2 separate regions of the Homo sapiens genome follow, and region 1 is linked to region 2. Evidence: promoter capture Hi-C in 16 types of primary human blood cells and fetal thymus (Javierre and others, 2016). All regions are on one chromosome and are shown on one strand. The core of a region is centred on a gene start or on the middle of the fragment in contact, and the rest is flanking DNA. Distances in the headings are between cores, read along the strand shown.

The links. Contacts are between HindIII fragments. The CHiCAGO score rates a contact against its expected background, and 5 or more counts as called.
Region 1: a contact is called between a fragment that was not itself captured here and the fragment with the promoter of PPARA in region 2, in 7 of 17 cell types (endothelial precursors, erythroblasts, M1 macrophages and 4 more). The highest score is 8.4, in endothelial precursors.

What each region holds. Positions count from the first base shown.
Region 1 is chr22:46,317,919-46,321,200 of GRCh38, reverse strand. All of the region lies in intron 7 of GTSE1 (G2 and S-phase expressed 1), which reads right to left. Among named protein-coding and RNA genes, the nearest start is that of TRMU, 16 kb to the left of the region's middle. The HindIII fragment of the contact is 4,924 bases long and covers 1-3,282 here.
Region 2 is chr22:46,149,241-46,152,806 of GRCh38, reverse strand. PPARA (peroxisome proliferator activated receptor alpha) reads right to left here and starts at 2,281. Exons shown (of 9, transcript NM_005036.6): 1 at 2,155-2,281; 2 at 837-919. RefSeq lists an enhancer at 1,541-1,730 and silencers at 1,941-2,060, 2,211-2,820. The HindIII fragment of the contact is 11,056 bases long and covers 1-3,566 here.

The DNA of each region.
Region 1 (3,282 bases), core at 750-3,249, 170 kb before region 2:
TTGTATGGAGTGGGGTGGTCTGTGACTAAGTCATCCCATAATCCCTGTCTTTTGGGAACATTCTTGGGTCACTGACCCCGCACCATTCACAGAGGTCTCTGTGAGACCCAAGTTGGTCACTCCTGGCGGGTGTGGAGGCAAGCCCACCTCTCTCTCCCTCGCCGCCTCCCTCTCCCTTGCCGCCTCCCGTGTTGGCTCCCTCTCTCCCGAGACCCCTTCCTCTCGGTTGTCCTCTCCCTCAGCTGGGTGGAGCGCACTCTTCAGCAGCTTCCATGGTGGCACGGGAAGGTCATTCTTATGAAACAGAACACGAACAAGCCATCTCCTGACACCCTCACGACTGCCCTAGGGCTGCCTGAGCACGCACGCCTCCCAGGCCCACATCAGCTCTTCCCTAAACCTGGACGGCGCGTCTCCACTGCAGCTCCCAGTACCGGGGAGGCAAAGCCCACAGCCAGAATTCCAAGTCTCAATCCTCTGGGTGACCCGGCAGCATGGACTCATAGTAAATAGCAACATTTGTAACTGGACTGTTTTACAAAGAATGCTGCTTGCCTCGAGTATTTTGAGAAAGTGCACATATGAAAGCCTCCACTACAGGGCACCGTTCATGTGGTCCCACGCTGTGAGTGCCCTCAGCCCTCACCTCTCCTCCACGGTGACAGCTGGTGTCACAGCCAATGAGCAACACCACCAGTGCTCTCAGCCAAAAAGTGCACACCACCACGTGCCTCCCAGAGCTGTGTGTTCCCAACAGCGTGGCTGCTCCCCTGGGGCCTCTCTTCCGGCCAGTGCTGAGTTTGTGGGACCAGTTTTGACCCTGATGAATGACCAAAGGCGTGCAAGAGACAGTCCTGTTCCCAGCATTGTGGAGAGAGGAGGAACCGCCTGCCGAAGGTGAAATGCACATCTGAGAGGTGCGTAAGGAGACCGCAGGGACACGCTCTGGGAAACAGGGCAAAGCCAACAGGGATTTGGGATTAGCAGAAGTCCTGTGGCATCAAGCAGCCCGACAGCCAGGAGACCAGCCAACACTTGTGCCAACGTGGTCAGGAGAGACATGGCAGACGCATGTCCTGGCTCCAGGCATTCAGGCAGAAGGGAAGCAAACACTACTGAACACACCTCCACATGACCTGGGCCGTAGGGTGTCCCTGCAGAACCCACCCAATCACAGCTCGCATTTCTTTTCTTTCTTTCTTTCTTTTTTTTTTTTTTGAGACAGTCTCGTTCTGTCGCCCAGGCTGGAGTGCAGTGACACCATCTCGGCTCACTACAACCTCTGCCTCCTGGCTCAAGTGATTCTCCTGCCTCAGCTTCCCAAGTAGCTGGGATTACAGGCATGCGCCACCATGCCTGGCTAATTTTTCTATTTTTAGTAGAGACAGGGTTTCACCATGTTGACCAGGCTGCTCTCGAACTCCTGACCTCAGGTGATCTGCTCACCTCGGCCTCCCAAAGTGCTAGGATTACAGGAGTTAGCCACCGTGCCCAGCTCACAGCTCCCATCTCTACAAACTCAGCTCTCTGCTGTTGAAACCTACACTGAGGTCTCCAGCTGTGGCTTCTCCTCTGAGCTCTCAGCCTGCTCCACCCCTCAGCTGCAGCCTAAGTGGCCTCTCACCCTCACTACTTCCAAAATGGGGCCGTGGACTCTGCCCGCTGCCTCTTCCAGCCCTCCTGTCACATGAGTGGCAGCACCCAGGTTCCGCCAGAACCTCAGGGACACTCGAGTCCCTCTCTGCACTGCCACATGAGCCCTAAGCTACCAGAACGTCAGGCAGACCGCAGCGCTCCAGCCTCCTTCCCCAGCACTAGCTTCCTCCCCAACACAGTGAGGGCCAGGTCCGCATTACCCTCCCCACCACTCTTCGGCCCAGAGACTCTGCTCTTCCCTCTGTGGAGGGACCTTCTGAAGGTCAAGTCGCTCTGCTCTGATCTCTCCTATGCACGTCCTCCTGCACTGACGGTACTCCAGGGTCCGCTCTGGTCACGCGGCGCTCTGGGAGCCGGCCTCGGGCTGCCCCTCCATCTTCATCTCTTCTTACCCTGCCCCTCGGTCACTGACTGGCTGAGGTTGCTAGTTTTTGTTCAACAGCAACTTTCCTCTTCTCAGTAAGAAATTTCAGCTGTGTGCGGAATAAAGACAACGTGTCCTAGCATCCTGTGCAGGGAAGCGTCGTACTCAATGGGACACAAACGGAGTCACAGGGACAACTTGCAGTGAGGGTCCTTGAAAGGTGGGGATTTGCTCTTCTTCACCTAGAAGAAGGCTTCCTGCCGGGAGGTATGAGGGCCAGAGCCGGTGCAGCCACACTAGACCATGAGGATGAGAAGCTCATCACGGCAGCACAGGATGGAGTAAGCCTGGGTCCCTGACACCAAGGAGTACTGACCAGCTGTCGCACGTCTACGCAGAATCCCGACCGCAGCGGCTGCACTCCCACCCTCCGGCCCCCATGCTGCTCCCAGAGCACGTCCCACGCCTTCCTGCCCCAGGACCTCTGCACTCCTGCCGTTGCCTCTGCCTGGAGTGCTCCCCCTTGCACTTTCCTACCGGCTGCCTCAGTCTCCTGGTTCAGATCTCAGTCCCGTGTCACCTCCTGACCATCTTTGCCAAAGAACCACCCGATGCAAATTCCTCCCCAAACATGCCAGCTCCAGGACACCATCTTCCCTTAGTCCCTTTGTTGTGCTAGGATCTGCAGGCCTGCTCATCTGATAACATTTCGTATCTTTTCCTATTAAACAGAAATTCTGTGAGAGTAGGTCTGTCTTATCATGATGTCCCTTGTCCCCCAAAGCATTCCAGCACAGAGAAGACACTCAGCAGAACAGCTTGTTCCTACAGCAGGACTCAGAATGCAGTTTCTGGGAGTTGCAGGCTGCCTGTGCTGGCCGGCACTGCCAGAACTTAAAATCCTCAAGCACCCAGAGGGCAGATCTGCCTGACAGAGGAGGCCAGGACGCTCCTCTCACCTTAAGTCAGCTCTGAGAACTTTCTGCATTGCACACAATTGTTCAAGAAATTCATGAAAACTTTACAAACACCCACCCACTAATGGCCAGACACCTGCTGGGGCCAGTGGCCTCACTGACTGGAGAAGGCAGTGGCTGGAGCTCAGGAGGCTGAGGTGGCTGCAATCTGAGGGCCAGAAACTAGAGAGGAGGGGGCTACTCCGACAGAACGAGCTCTAGGAACCCAAGGGAATCTCGAGTCTCTGGCTGAGCACCAGGCAGTGCACAGGTGCAGGGCAGGAGTCCTCAAGGTCAAGAGAAGAG
Region 2 (3,566 bases), core at 1,032-3,531:
ACTTGCCAATTAGTTTACTTTTGCTTCAGAGTTGCAGAGGTCATCATCAGCCCCAGTGTCCCTGGTCTCTCATGGATGGTGACCACACAAATTTGTATCATCTGGCCCGTTTCTTCAGCCTATCCCTGGCATGTTCTGGCACGGGTCTATCTCAAGAAGCCATCTGCTTAATATTCAAATCAAAATGAAAACAGCTCAGAGACAGTACACTACTCGGTACCAGTCAGTGTGGACATCCCAAGGGTCTAGTAAGCACTCACGTTTCTCAAAGTTAATGTCATCAAGTTTTAAATTATACAAAACATGCCTGCCACGAAGCAATGAAGTTCCTAGCAAAAGTCACACAATAACTCAGAACTTCAAAGTGAATCCTAGGCCAGGCACGGTGGCTCACGTCTGTAATCCCAGCACTTTGGGAGGAACAGGTGGATCATGAGGTCAGGAGTTCAAGATCAGCCTGGCCAAGATGGTGAAACCCCGCCTCTACTAAAACTACAAAAATTAGCTGGGCATGGTGGCAGGCGCCTGTAATCCCAGCTACTCGGGAGGCTGAGGCAAGAGAATCGCTTGAACCCCAGTGGCAGAGGTTGCTGTGATCTGAGATTAGGCCACTGCACTCCAGCCTGGGCGGCAGAGCGAGACTCCGTCTCAAAAAAAAAAAAAAAAAAAAAAAATGAATCCATGCACATGTATTTTACTTTCAGTCTGAAAACGTATCTAACCTTGCATCACAAAGTAATAACCCCCAGATTGCTGGTCTGTAGTGCAACAGAAGTAAACACTGAAAACACTTAAATATTTCCATCTGGAAACAGTAAATTAAACCTTCTATTTACCTGTGGTGACAGCTTCTCAGTTCTGAGCTTGTCTTGCCACAAACTGTTGAGTCCACAGAGCAGACAGGGCCCTGAGCTTCAGCCTGGCAGTAAGAAGGTGAAGGAGGAAGTGATTACGGTTGTTCTCTGGATGCCCCCCAACTCTTCACCTTGGAAGAGGAAAGTCATGCTGACCCTGCCCCGCAACGACACGGGTGTCGCAGGGTCCTTCCCAGGAAAATCCCGTGTCCTTGCCCTGACCCAGTTCCCCAAGGCACCCTTATCCCAAGGAGGCTGGGAGAGGAGGGGCCTCCCTGGTTTCCTGGCAGGGGTCGGCTGAGGCTGACGTGGGCGTGCAGCCCCGGAGGTCCCACGAAGCCCAGGCCATTGGACAACTGTGGGTTTTTCTTGGAAAGAATCCTGACACTTGGAGCACACTTCCTCTCTTTTAACTTTTAAAAAAGACTTCAGAAAAGCACAGGCGTGCAGTTGTGCCCGGTTGGGGTGCGTGAGGGGGCAGGGCCGACCCTCCTGACTTCCACTGGCACCACCCCGCGCCCCTCCAGCTTCACCCGCACCACGCGGGCCGCGCAGCCCGGGACTCCGGAAAGACCTGGGCGCCCGACCCTCAGCGGCCCCGACCGGGAGCGACGTGGCGCGGCTTCCGCAGAGAAGCCACCCGGCCCAGCGCAGCCTGTCCGGGGTCGCCCCGCCGCGTTGGGGCACAAAGTGGGAACCGTTCCTCAAAGGTGGTCGCAGCTGGAGGAACAAACACGCGCGTCTCCGTCCGACGGCAGAAGCCGGGCGCACCCACCCAGGGTCGGTCTGTCCGGGGCCCGGGTTTCCTCGCCTCGGAGATCCCTGGAGGTCTCGGAAAGCACCTTCTGAGTCGGCGACGCCCCAGCTCCGCTGCGCCGAGGAAAGGGCAAGTCCCGATGTCCCCGCCCGTGGGCCCTCCCTCCGAGGGGACAACCCGAAGACCCAGAGTCGCTGCGGTCCCCAGACCCGACCTCCGCGCAGCGCCAAACCCCAGGGACAGCCGCGGACTCGGGTTCCGGGCAGGCCCCCAGCGCTAGGAGGGAGGCCGAGCTGGGCCCCGAGATCCCTCGCAAGAGTCCTCGGTGTGTGTCCTCGCTCCTCGCCCTCAGGTCCCCAGCCGCGCACCCCGGGCCCCCGGGTCCCCGGGACCCGGAGACCCCGAGACCCCGGGCCCCGCGCATGCGCCGCCCAGCCCCTGCCCCTCCCCCGTCCGCCGCCCTCCGGGTCCCGGGACCTGGGAAGCCCGGACCGCGGACCCCCGCGCGCGTTCCCGCCCGCCCGCCCGCCCGCCCCCGGGCACCTGGGCCGCGGTCCGCCGCCTGCCGGTCCGTGGGGCGAACGCCGAAGGAGGCGGCGCCGGGCAGGGCGCTAGCGGCCGCCTCCGCCCCCGCCGCCCGCTGCCCCCGCCGCGGGGCCGCCGCGTCCACGGCCCATGCCCGGCGCCGCCTCCGCGCGTCCGTGCCAGCCGCGCCCCCGCGACACGCACCGCCCCTCGGCCCGCCCCCTGCCCCGGTCCGCGCGAGCCAGTGTCCCGAGGCCCGACCCGGAAGCCCCGCCCGCCCCGCGCGCCCTCCGGGCCCCGGGCCTCGGCCCCGGGACACACCCCCCGGAGGGCGGCGCCCGATTGGCTGCTCGCGGTGGGCGGGGCCCCGGGAGCGCTCAGCGGCTCCCACCTAGCGCCCCGCGGCCGCTGCAGCCAAGGGAAACTGAGGCCGGAGAGGTGGAGGGACCGTCCAAGGTCACCGATGGGACACCGCTGAGCGTCAGCGCCCCTCCAGCCCGGCGCACCGGGGCGGGGCTGAATTCGAGGCGGGGACGCGCGGCCGCGGGGCGGGTGGAGGTTCCCGCCGGGCGCCCGTGCCACGCTGGCGAGCCCCTCCTGCCTCCTCGATGAGCCCGGCTCTGCTACTCTGTGCGATGAGCCGGTCTAGACCCGGGACCCGGGACCGGGTGCCCTTGAGGCTCAGAAGTGCGTAGGGTGGGAGGCGGCCCGGGAGGGACCTTGTCCCTGGAACCCCAGGATGCAAAATAAGGAGAAGGGGAAGGCGAGCTGGGAGGACAAGGAAACAGGTGGCGGGAGGTGCCAGGGCGGTGTGGTGGGCGGGGGAACGAGGAGGGTGAAGGGCAACGCGGACGGGCTCGGGGAGGCGCCGCCAGCTCCGACCCCACAACCCCACCCCTCTCCAGCGGCCCAAGAGCCATGCCCGCCCCTACTTCATGCGCTGGGGGGTGAGGGGCTGACTTTGTGCCTACGCAAGGCGCTGGGACTCTGCCAGAGCAAGGAGAGGTCGCGGCCCGGTGGCCAATGGCGAGGAGTAGGAGAGCGCCCTGCAAAGCCGCTTTGTTCGGGCCGTGACGCTCGAGCTGCCGGAGCGGAATGCACAAAGCCCCTGGGTGCCGGCACATCAGGGCTCCCCTCCTCGGGAACGCAATGTGTGCTATGCCCGCTCCACTGCCTGCCCTCCGCTGCCAGCTGTGCCTGCCACTGTGCTATTTGTGGCAGCGGGCGCCCAGGAGGACCCACTCCGGAAAGCAAACCCAGATCTCATTAGGCAGGGGAACTGGAGATCAGGCGGGAACTGGCCCTTTCACAAACTTCTCTTAAACTCACCCTTGTTGATTAGCCAGGCACCTATGGTGAACTTTGCCCCACCCTCCAGACACCCACATATCCTTCCCACTGGCACACGGCAACCTCACCTTCTCTTGCAC